Linked DNA regions of Homo sapiens: all the other regions are linked to region 3. The links are contacts of gene promoters, found by promoter capture Hi-C in blood cells and fetal thymus (Javierre and others, 2016). All regions are on one chromosome and are shown on one strand. The core of a region is centred on a gene start or on the middle of the fragment in contact, and the rest is flanking DNA. Distances in the headings are between cores, read along the strand shown. Region 1 overlaps PHF7 (PHD finger protein 7). Region 2 overlaps NISCH (nischarin). Region 3 holds the start of RPL29 (ribosomal protein L29).

The links. The method cuts DNA at HindIII sites, captures the fragments that hold promoters and counts their contacts. A CHiCAGO score of 5 or more calls a contact.
Region 1: a fragment that was not itself captured here is called in contact with the fragment with the promoter of RPL29 in region 3 in 1 of 17 cell types (total B cells); the score reaches 5.4 in total B cells.
Region 2: a fragment that was not itself captured here is called in contact with the fragment with the promoter of RPL29 in region 3 in 1 of 17 cell types (naive B cells); the score reaches 6.0 in naive B cells.

What each region holds. Positions count from the first base shown.
Region 1 is chr3:52,415,339-52,419,082 of GRCh38, forward strand. All of the region lies in intron 4 of PHF7 (PHD finger protein 7), which reads left to right. Among named protein-coding and RNA genes, the nearest start is that of PHF7, 6.6 kb to the left of the region's middle. The HindIII fragment of the contact is 1,167 bases long and covers 798-1,964 here.
Region 2 is chr3:52,463,331-52,467,344 of GRCh38, forward strand. The region is part of intron 3 of NISCH (nischarin); the gene reads left to right. Among named protein-coding and RNA genes, the nearest start is that of NISCH, 9.7 kb to the left of the region's middle. The HindIII fragment of the contact is 5,780 bases long and covers 1-4,014 here.
Region 3 is chr3:51,994,441-51,998,077 of GRCh38, forward strand. It overlaps RPL29 (ribosomal protein L29), which reads right to left and starts at 1,455. Exons shown (of 4, transcript NM_000992.3): 1 at 1,417-1,455; 2 at 985-1,029; 3 at 602-666. The coding sequence starts at 1,021. RefSeq lists an enhancer at 1,400-1,559. The HindIII fragment of the contact is 1,082 bases long and covers 435-1,516 here.

The DNA of each region.
Region 1 (3,744 bases), core at 131-2,630, 420 kb after region 3:
GACACCTACCACCATGCCTGGCTAATTTTGTATTTTTAGTAGAGACAGGTTTCACCGTGTTAGCCAGGCTGGTCTTGAACAAAATTCACTAATTTTAAGGGTCCAGTTTGATAAGTTTTGATAAATGTATGTCCCCAAATAACCACCACCCCAATCAAAATAGGTAATATTTTCATCACCCCAGAAAGTTCCCTCCTGCCTCCTTTTCCAGTCAATCCCACTAGACGTAATCACTGTTCTGATCTATGGATTATTTTTGGCTATTCTTTTACTTCATATAAGTGAAATCATATAGTTTATAATCTTCTGTATCTGGCTTTTTTCTCCCAACACAGTGTTTTGGAGATTCATCCATGTTGTTGCATGCATTCATAGCTTGTGCCTTTTTATTACTTGGTAGTATTCGGTTGCATGAATAAGTTACTATTTGCTTATCTGTTCACCTGTTGATGAACATCTGAATTGTTTCCATTTGAGGACTATTATGAATAAAGCTACTTTAAGCATTCATGTACAAGTCTCTTTGTGAACATGTGCTTTCACTTCTCTTGTGCAGATGCCTAGAAGTGGAATTACTAGTTGTATGCTAATTAGATATTTAACTTTATGTGAGGTTGCCACATCACTGTCCAAAGCGGTTGTACCAGCTTACACTCCTACCAGCAATTTATAAGAAGTCCAGTTGCACAGTATTCTTGCCGGAACTTTGTTTTGTCAGTGTTCTTAATTTTAGCCATTCTACTGGGTGTGTATTGGTATTTCATTGTCGTTTTAATTTCCATTTTTCTGATGACTAAAGCTTCTTTTCATGTGCATATTGGCCATTCACATATTTTCTTTGGTTTTTTGGTTTTTTTTTTTTTTTGAGATGGAGTCTCGCTCTGTCGCCCAGGCTGGAGTGCAGTGGTATGATCTTGGCTCACTGCAGCCTCCACCTCCCGGGTTGGAGCAATTCTCCTGCATCAGCCTCCCAAGTAGCTGGGACTACAGGTGCCTGTCACCACGCATGGCTAATTTTTATATTTTTAGTAGAGACAGGGTTTCACCGTGTTAGCCAGGATGGTCTCGATCTCTTGACCTCGTGATCTGCCCACCTCGGCCTCCCAAAGTGCTGGGATTACAGGCGTGAGCCACCGCGCCTGGCCCGGCCCACATATTTTCGTTTGTTAAGTATCTGTACAAATATTTTTACCCATTTAAAAACACTGAGTGGTGGTCGGGCACAGTGGCTCACGCCTGTAATCCCAGAACTTTGGGAGGCCGAGGCGAGCAGATCAAGAGGTCAGGAGATGGAGACCATCCTGGCTAACACGGTGAAACCCTGTGTCTACTAAAAATAAAAAAATTAGCCGGGCATGGTGGCAGGCGCCTGTAGTCCCAGCTACTCGGGAGGCTGAGGCAGGAGAATGGCGTGAACCCAGGAAGTGGAGCTTGCAGTGAGCCGAGATCACGCCACTGCACTCCAGCCTGGGCGACAGTGCAAGACTCCGTCTCAAAAAAAAAAAAAAAAAATTGAGTGGTTTTATTATTGAGTTGTAGGAATTGCTTATATATTTCAGATACAAATTCTTTTTCAAATATATGTATTGAGACTATTTTCTTCCTAGTCTTTGGCTTGCCTTTTCATTTTCTTAATGGTGTCTTTCAAAGAACAAGTTTGTAATTGTAATGGAGCCCAGTTTATCCATTTTTTTCTTTTATGGTCAGTGCTTTTTGTGTGTTGCAAGAAATCTTTACCTACCCATAGAATTGCCTTGGTGCCTTTGTCAAAATCAATTGACCATATATCTGTGGATCTGGATAATCTATTTATGTCATTGATCTATGTATCTATTCTTACACAAGTCCCCACTGTCTTGATTATTGTGGCTTTATAGTATATTGAAATTCAGTATTGTTAAGTTCTACAATCTTTTCCAAGATTGTTTTGACTATCAGGTCCTTTCTTTATAAAGTTTATATTAAGCTTGTCAATTTTTCTTTAAAAAAAAAGTCTACTGGGATTGTGATTGGGATTGCATTGAATTTATAGGTCAATTTGGGAAGAATTGACAAAAAATATTGAACCTTCCAATCCATGGACATGGTATATTTTTCCACTTATTTGGGTCTTTTAAAATATATCTCAGCAATGTTTTGTTGTTTTGGTGACAAAGTCTTGTACATCTTTTGTTAAATGTATTCCTAAATATTCTGTGGTTATGCTATTGTAAATAGTATTTTTATTTCATTTTTAAGTTTATTGCTGGTATATAGAAATGCATTTTATTTTTGTATATTGATTTGTATCCTGTAATCTTGTTAAATTGAGTTTGATTAGTTGTTTTTTTATTTTGTTGTAAATGCCTTGTTACAGGATTCCCTATGCACATAACCATGTCATGTGTGAATAAAGACAGTTCTACTTCTTTCTCTCAATCTTTGCCTTTTATTTCTTCTTGCCTTGTTGTATTGGCTAGGACCTTTAACCTAACATTGAATAGAAGTGGTGTGAGTTGTTATCCTTGTCTTGTTCCCAACATCAGGGGACAGCATCTAGTTTTTCACTATTAAAGTATGTTAGCTCTAGGTTTTTTTCATAGATGTTTTTATCAGGTTGAAGATCCCTTTTATTCATATATAGTTTGCCCAGAGTATCATGAATGGGTGTTGAATTTTCTCACTTTTCCTGTATTTATTGAGATTATCTTGATTTTTCTCTTTAATTTTGTTAATGTAGTTTGTTACATCAACTAAATGCTCTAATGTTAAACTAGTCTTGCATTCTTGGTATAAACTCTACTTGGTCATGATGTATTGTCCTTTTTATATGGTGCTGGATTCAGTTTGCATCTGTTTTGATTTTTATATCTGTGCTCATGAGAAAGATTGGTCTGTGATTTTCCTTTCTTGTAAGTCCTATCAGGTGTCAGGGCTTAGTTATAATTTTGATGTATTTACAAGCATATACATTTTTTACATAAAAATTAAACATTATACAGAGTGCTTTGTATCTTGGCTTTTTTCCATCATATATATTTTGGAAATCTTTCTGTATAGAACATATAGATATAGTTTTTTCTTTTTAGTAGCTAATTTATTAAATCAATACATGCTTATTGCAGAAAACATGAATGATACTTAAAAATATGAAGAAAACAAATCACTCATCCCAAAGCCCTGAGATAATTAGTTTTAAAATATGTGTTTCAAAAGTTCAATTCCTTCCCCCATAATACAGAACAACAACAATCAAGAGATATTAAAACCCTGTTTTTCTTCCTGTATTACTCTGAGAAGAGTATTTTCTCTGTACTAAGAGGTGATGCAGCAGGAAGGGTAAGAATGGGGATTCCATGGGCCTGGGTGTGAATAGCCAGCTCTGCTCCTCCTTGTCCTATAACCCTGGGAGGCAGTGTCACTTGCCACACTGCACCTCAGCGGCCTCCTCTGTAAGATGAGCATCATAATAGCATCTGCCATTACAGGAATTTTTTTTTTTTTTTTTGAGACGGAGTCTTGCTCTGTCGCCCAGGCTAGAGTGCAGTGGCCTGATCTTGGCTCACTTCAACCTCCGCCTCCCGGGTTCAAGCGATTCTCCTGCCTCAGCCTCCCGAGTAGCTGGGATTACAGGCGCGCACCACCATGCCCTAGTTTTTGTATTTTTAGTAGAGACAGGGTTTCACCATGTTGGCCAGGCTGGTCTCGAACTCCTGACCTCAGATGGTCAGCCCTCCTCGGCTTCCCAAAGTGCTAGGATTACAG
Region 2 (4,014 bases), core at 209-2,708, 470 kb after region 3:
CACATTATGTTTATTTATTAGCAGTTGATGGATGTTAGGTTTGTTTCCATTTTTGGCCATTGCAAATGATGCTGCTATGAGCATTTGTATGTTAATTTTTGTGTGAACTTATGTTTTCATTTTTGTTGGATATATAGCCAAAAGTGGAACCTGAGTTATATGGTAACTATGTTTGACTTTTTGAGAAACTAACAAATTGTTCTCCACAGTTGTTGCACCATTTGACGTTTCCATCGGCAGTGTATAGGTTCTAATTTCCCCACATTCTTGCTTAACACTTCTTGTCCATTTTTTTTTAAATCTTAGTTGTTCTGGTGGGTGTGAAGTGGTATCTCATTGTGGTTTTAATTTACATTTCCCTAATGACTAATGTTATTGAACCTCTTTTTTTTTTTTTTTTTTTTTTTTTCTGAGACAGAGTCTCGCTCTGTCGCACAGGCTGGGGTGCAGGCATGTGATCCCGGCTCACTGCAACCTCTGTCTCCTGGGTTCAAGCGATTCTCGTGCCTCAGCCTCCCGAGTAGCTGGGACTACAGGCGTGCACCACCACGCCTGGCTAATTTTTGTATTTTTTTCATTAGAGACGGGGTTTCACCATGTCGGCCAGGATGGTCTCGAACTTCTGGCCTCAAGTGATTCGCCCACCTTGGCCTCCCAAAGTGCTGAGATTACAGGTGTGAGCCACCACACCTGGCCTGAGCCTCTTTTCATATGATATTTGGCCATTTGTGTATTTTCTTTGGAGAAAAGTATCCAATTCTTTGTCTTTTTAAAAATCAGATTGGGCCGGGCGCGGGTGGCTCATGCCTGTAATCCCAGCACTTTGGAAGGCTGAGGTGGGCGGATCACTTGAGGCCTGGAGTTCGAGACCAGCCTGGCCAACATGGAGAAACCCTGTCTCTACTAAAAATACAGAAATTAGCCGGGCATGGTGGTGTGTGCCTGTAATCTCAGCTCCTCGGGAGGCTGACGCACAAGAATGGCTTAAATCTGAGAGGCGAAGATTGCAATGAGTGAGACCACACCACTGCACTCCAGCCTGGGTGACAGAGTAAGACTGTCTAAAAAAACAAAAAAAACAAAAAAAACAGATTATCTTTGTTGTTGAGTTGTAAGAGTTCTTTATATATTCTGGCTACTAGACTTTTAGAAACATGCAAATACTTTTTCACATTCTGTGAGTTGTCTTTTTTTTTTTTTTTTTTTTTTTTTGAGACAGATTCTTGCTCTGTTGCCCAAGCTGGAGTATAGTGGCGTGATCTCGACTCACTGCAACCTCCACCCCTGGGGTTCAAGCGATTCTCGTGCCTCGGCCTCCCAAGTAGCTGGGACTACAGGCGTACGCAACCACGTCTGGCTGATTTTTGTATTTTTAGTAGAGATGGGGTTTTACCATGTTGGCCAGGCTGGTCTTGAACTCCTGACCTTAGGTGATACACCTGTCTCAGCCTCCCAAAGTGCCGGCATTACAGCCTGAGCCACCACATCCGGCCTGCCCAGCTAATTTTTCTATTTTTAGTAGAGACAGGGTTTTACTATGTTGGCCAGGCTGGTCTCGAACTCCTGACCTTAGGTGATCCACCTGCCTCAGCCTCCCAAATTGATGGGATAACAGGCGTAAGCCACCATGCCCGGCCATCTTTTCATTTTCTTGATGGTCTTCATTGAAGCACAAAAGATTTAGATTTTGATTAAGTTCAATTTATCAATTTCTTTGGTCACTTGTGTTTTGGTATCATACATGAGAAACCATTGCCCAATCCAAGGTCACAAAGATTTATAACAATATATTCCTGTATGGATTTTGTTTGTTTTTTGAGACAGGGTCTTGCTCTATTGCCTAGGCTGGAGTGCAGTGGCACCATCTCGGCTCACTGCAGCCTCAACCTCCCAGGCTCAAGCACTCCTCCCACCTCAACCCCCCAAGTAGCTGGGACTACAGGCATATGCCACCGTACTTGGCTAATTTTTGTACTTTTTGTGGAGATGGGGTTTCTCCATGTTGCCCAGGCTGGTCTCGAACTCCTGGGCTCAAGTGATCCACCCACCTCGGCCTCCCAAAGCGCTCGGTTTACAGGCGTGAGCCACCACACCCAGCCTGCAGTGTGGATTTTAATAACAAGGAAAGAAAGCACTACTTGTTTACCAGCCCACTTTAGGTGGGAGCGCAGGGGTTGCCGCCTGTATGAGTGAGGGGCACACTGTGGCACTGGCCTGTTGCTATGCTGCTCTTCAGATTGCTGTGTCCTGACCCTCCTGGACGCGTGGTGACAGGCCTCATCCCAGAACCCCTGGAACAGAGGTTTCCAAACTCAGTGAAATGGAATCCCATCCGGAATTCTAGCACACCATGTGGGCCGGGACCTCCAACTGTGGTGGACTTGGAGGCAGGCAGAGGCGAGTTTATCTCCCACCCCTACTTCCCAACGGTTTAGTCCAAGTCAGTCATTTAACCTGCCTGTGAGCTGGAGGCTGGTGAGCTGGGGTCCTTGTGAGGCCTGCAAGAGACTGTGCAGTGAAGGTCAATGGCTTAGAAGAGTGTTGGGCCTGAGGTTAGGGCTGACCATGTGCTAGCCATTACTAGGTGGTTCGGGAAAGAAAAGGAATTCATTTCTCTTGAAAGGTGTTTATATTGTTGTCTTCTTTTAAAGTTAGTTGGCTAGAACAAAGATCCTTTTCAAAATTTGGAATCAGGGGCTATGTTGAACTGTTACAATCTTAGCATTGGCTTTAGCATCCAATTTATTTCCATAATTTGTTTTAGTTGCAAAGTACTGAGGCTGTGAATTACAACAGATTTTCTTTTGAACTTACAGTCTTGCAACTCTCTTCAGTTAAAGCTGAGGTTTGAATCCATCAATGGGGAATTTTAGCTTAAAGTTGAATCACACATATTATGCCTGACTCCTGCTAGAATGCCTCATACCAACATAAATTAAAGTGAGACGAGGAGGGCCGGGCATGGTGACTCACGCCTGTAATCCCAGCACTTTGGGAGGCTGAGGCAGATGGATCACAAGGTCAGGAGTTCAAGACCAGCCTGGCCAACATGGTGAAACCCCTTCTTCACTAAAGATACAAAAAATTAGCCAGGCATGGTGGCACCCACCTGTAATCCCAGCTACTCCAGAGACTCAGGCAGGAGAATTGCTTGAACCCAGGAGGCGGAGGTTGTAGTGAGCCGAGATCGCGCCATTGCACTCAGCATGGGTGACAGGGCAAGACTCCATCTCAAAAAAAAAAAAAAAAAATAGTGAGACAAGGATTCCAGCTCTTAGCATGTGTGTCTCAGCCACACTTGGGGATGGCCTCAGTGACATGTAATTCACTCGCTGGTTAGTGCCCCACAGATAAGCACGCTGCCTGGGTGTGTGCCAAGCCGAAGCATCTAGGCCTGGCCTGGGGTTTGCATTGAGTGTAGGTGTATGTGTTTTGAAGTATACTTGGTTGCAGGGCATGTGCGCAGGCATTCTTAGTGAGAATTTAAGTTGCAGGACCACAGCCCAGCTAGTGTTTACATGAAGCTCAAACCTTTGCCCACGGCTACACACCAACACAGAATCCCGGCAGGTGGTGGGCAGGTGGTGCGGCTGATCTCTTGGTCAGTAACACACTGGGAGGGTGAGTGTTAACAGTTTGTAAACATAGCTGACACTAAGTTTCTTTTTCTTTTTTTTTTTTTTTTTTGAGACAGAGTCTCACTCTTGTTGCCCAGGCTGGAGTGCAATGATGCAATCTCGGCTCACTGCAACCTCCACCTCCTGGGTTCAAGTGATTCTCCTGCCTCAGACTCCAGAGTAGCTGGTAGTACAGGCATGTGCCACCATGCCTGGCTAATTTTTGTATTTTTAGTAGAGACGGGGTTTCACCATGTTGGCCAGGCTGGTCTTGAACTCCTGACCTCAAGTGATCCGCCCGCCTCGGCCTCCCAAAGGGCTGGGATGATGGGTGAGCCATGGTGCCCAGCCGAGAATGTCCTTCAAAAAAATACATTTCAATTCAGACATTTATGGC
Region 3 (3,637 bases), core at 205-2,704:
TCAGGGACACCCCCTCCCCTCTTTAGAAGAAGGTGTCAATTAAATACCAAGTCTGGTCCAAAAGACTTATAGCCAAGGTGGGATATGGGGAAACTGAGGCTCAGAGTTTGTGATTCACTCCACGGAACAGAGAGCAAAAGTAAAGGGAAGGAACAGACTGGGGACATGCTCAGCTCTCCCCTAGACCCTCCAGCCTTCTCAGCTAATCCTTAGAACCCCCTGACACAGGAAGAGAAGCTGACCCCAACTCCAGCACTGGGTCAGATGGAGGTCATAAGGCTGGTCAGTGTGGGAATGTGCCCTGCACGCACTCAGACAAGGCCACTCCTTACCCTAAGTGCCACTGCCAAGCAAGGGAGATAGCCAAACTGCCCTCAGGAGGCAGGTTACACCCTGACCAGAGGGTTACACTTCAGGCTGTGGAGACCAAGGAAAGCTTTATTATGGGTCTGGTAGGGTAGAAAAAGGAATTGCAGGCTTTGGGTGGGCCAGTTAGGCTGTGCTCAGGCAGAAGCCAAAGCTAGAGAAAAACTACATGAGAGGCCTTGACTGTGCACCTGGAACCAAGAAAAGACACTTCCATGTGATTCAGTGCACTCACCCCCTTAAGAGATTCGTATCTTTGTGATCGGGGTTTCTTGATACCATTTCTGTGCCATTTTCGGGCTGTGGGAGAAAAAAAGGGAATTAAGCCAACAAAGAACTTTCCTCTAATAAGACCACCCAACATCACAGCTGGCAAGTCTGGGAGAACCAACACTTCCTACAGCAGCTACACTTGAGATATGGGAAACCCTTACTACTAAATGCAAAACACTCTGTATCTCAAGTAGATCTCTAAACCTATAAACCCTAAAGTTATTACTGGGTGAAATCAATCAGCCTCAGGCCCACAATGGAAACGTGCCCCTTCATCTCTGTCCCAGTTTGCCTGAACCAGTCCTTGCCAGGGTCTGGGATGTAGGCAGGGCCCAAAAAACTTACACTGGTTGTGTGTGGTGTGGTTCTTGGACTTGGCCATGTCTGCACCTGGAAGACAAAAGTGGAGATCAGGGTTAAGGGCTCGCCAGGCTGGGCCACCTCTGCCCCCCCCATTCTGGTCAGAATGAGCCTGCAGGCAGAGAATGTGCAGCCTCCACGAGTCTCGGCTTACTCTGCACGACCAAACGCCAGTCCTGGCCTCCCAAACCCAGGTAATGATGCCCTGAAATCAACTCCTTACCCCCGGAAAGCTGCATTCCCCAATAAAGTGGCTTTCCCTGCCATCCCCCTCCTAGGACCTAGAAGCACCATTCCCACCCCGCAGCTTTTGCTCCCGACAGACACACGGTCGGTCACCAGTCCTCTCCGCAGCCCGCGCCCCGCCGCCACCCGTAAGTCGCGGATGGCATCGGATGCCGCGCGGCCAACACTCACCATAAGCCGCGGCTCCCGAAGCGCCTAGAACCGGAAGAGAAAGGGGCTGCGGTGCAGCACGGGAAATAGGGTCAACAACGCCGGAAAGTACTACTGGAAAAGCTTCCCCAGGCTCCGCGAAGAAAAGTTCCGAAGCCCGGAAGAACGCAAGCCAGACGTGGAGGCGGTGCTACGAGCTTGCCTCCGCCCCCTTCAGGCTGCCTCCTCCCTTCTCTGTTTCTCCAGGACCTGTCTCTTAAGTCTTATTCAAGATACTGAAAAAGAAAGGAGTCCTTGAGGGATGTTGTTGGGCAAGAAGATCTGTGTTCTTTTTCTTTTTTTTTTTTTTTGAGACGGAGTTTCGCTCTTCCACCGAGGCTGGAGGGCAGTGGCACAATCTCGGCCCACTGCAACCTCCGCCTTCCGGTTTCAAGCGATTCTCTTGCCTCAGCCTCCCGAGTAGCTGGGATTACAGGCGCCCACCACCACGCCCGGCTAATTTTTACATTTTTAGTAGAGACGGGGTTTCACCATGTTGGCCAGGCTGGTCTCGAACTCCTGACCTCGCGATCCGCTCGCCTCTGTCCCCCAAAGTGCTGGGATTACAGGCGTGAGCCACCGCACCTGGCCGATCTGTGTTCTTAAAAGCACCCCTGTAATCCCAGCACTTTGGGAGGCTGAGGTGGGCGGATCACGAGGTCAGGAGTTCCAGACCAGCCTGGACAACATGGTGAAACCCCATCTCTACTAAAAATCCAAAAAAAAAAAAAAAAAAAAAAAAAAAATTCACGGGGCGTGGTGGCACGTGCCTGTAATCCCAGCTACTCTGGAGGCTGAGGCAGGAGAATTGCTTGAATCTGGGAGGTGGAGGTTGCAGTGAGCCAAGATCGCACCATTGCACTCCAGCCTGGGCTACAGGGCGAGACTCTGTCTCAAAAAAAAAAAAGAAAAGCACGCCTGACTCTTTCGTGGAGAAGGAGCAGAGGGGAGGAAGGAGAGAGGGCTGCCTGGACCTGAGGGAGGACAGTGGGAATGCAGAGGAGTGGACAAAGAAAGAGTACTGGACTTGGGACACAGAAGATGAGGGAGAAAAAGGAGGCAAGGATAGCCCCTATGTCTTTGGCTTGACAACTGGGTGAATGGTGGGCTGTTTACAGAGATGGAAGATTGAGTGGGGAGCAGGGGCTTTGTTTGTTTTGTTTTGAGGGGGAATGATGAGCCAGATATTTTTGTTGGATGCATTAAATGTGAGATGCCTGTTGGACATCAGAATTGAGAAATTGTTGCCTCTAACAACTCTGTTGCCTTCTCCACCTCTTCCCCCTATAGTTCATTTTCCACACGGCAGTGGGGCTTGGGGACTTGTTTTAAGATACAAATCAGATCCTGTCCCTTAAATCTGCAAGGACATCCCCTTGCATTGAAGATCAATTCTTTACCCACTTGACCCTGACAACCTCTGTCATTTACTTCTCTCCAAACGCATTGCCTTTCTTTCCTGCCAACCACAAATGTGTGTTCTGCCTCAGGACCTTTGCACTTGCTATCCCAGCCACCTGGACTGCCCTTCTCCCTGCTTTTTGGATGGTGTGCTCTTTCCTATAGAGGCCTCCCTGGACTCCATTATCTAAAATAGAGAACCACTGCCTCATCTCACCAGTGATTCTGTGTCCTCTCATGGTTTCCTTTCTTTTCTATTCTTTTTTTTTTTTTCTTTTTTTTAGACAGTCTCACTCTGTCTCCCAGGCTGGAGTGCAGTGGTGCGATCTCAGCTCACTGCAACCTCTGCCTCCCGGGTTCAAGCGATTCTCCTGCCTCAGCCTCCTGAGTAGCTGGGATTACGGGCGCACACCACCACTCCCAGCTAATTTTTAAAGAATTATTTTTAGTAGAGACGGGTTTTCACCATGTTGGCCAGGCTGGTGTTGAACTCCTGACCTCAGGTGGTCTGCCCGCCTCGGCCTCCCAAAGTGCTGGGATTACAGGCGTAAGCCACCGTGCCCGGCCATGGTTTGCTTTCTTTATAGAACTTTCCCAGACTCTAATTGCATTGTTTACTTAGTTGTGTATGTGTCCATTATCATAGGAGCCCAGAGTTTGGGACTGGTTTGATCACCTTCATTTTCCCACTGCCTAACTCAGCATAATGTAGATAGAGCAAGAGCTTAATAAACACATGCCCAGTGAACGTTCCTTGACAAGCCAGGTTCGTGGAGTGACAGACGCATACTGCAGAGGTTTA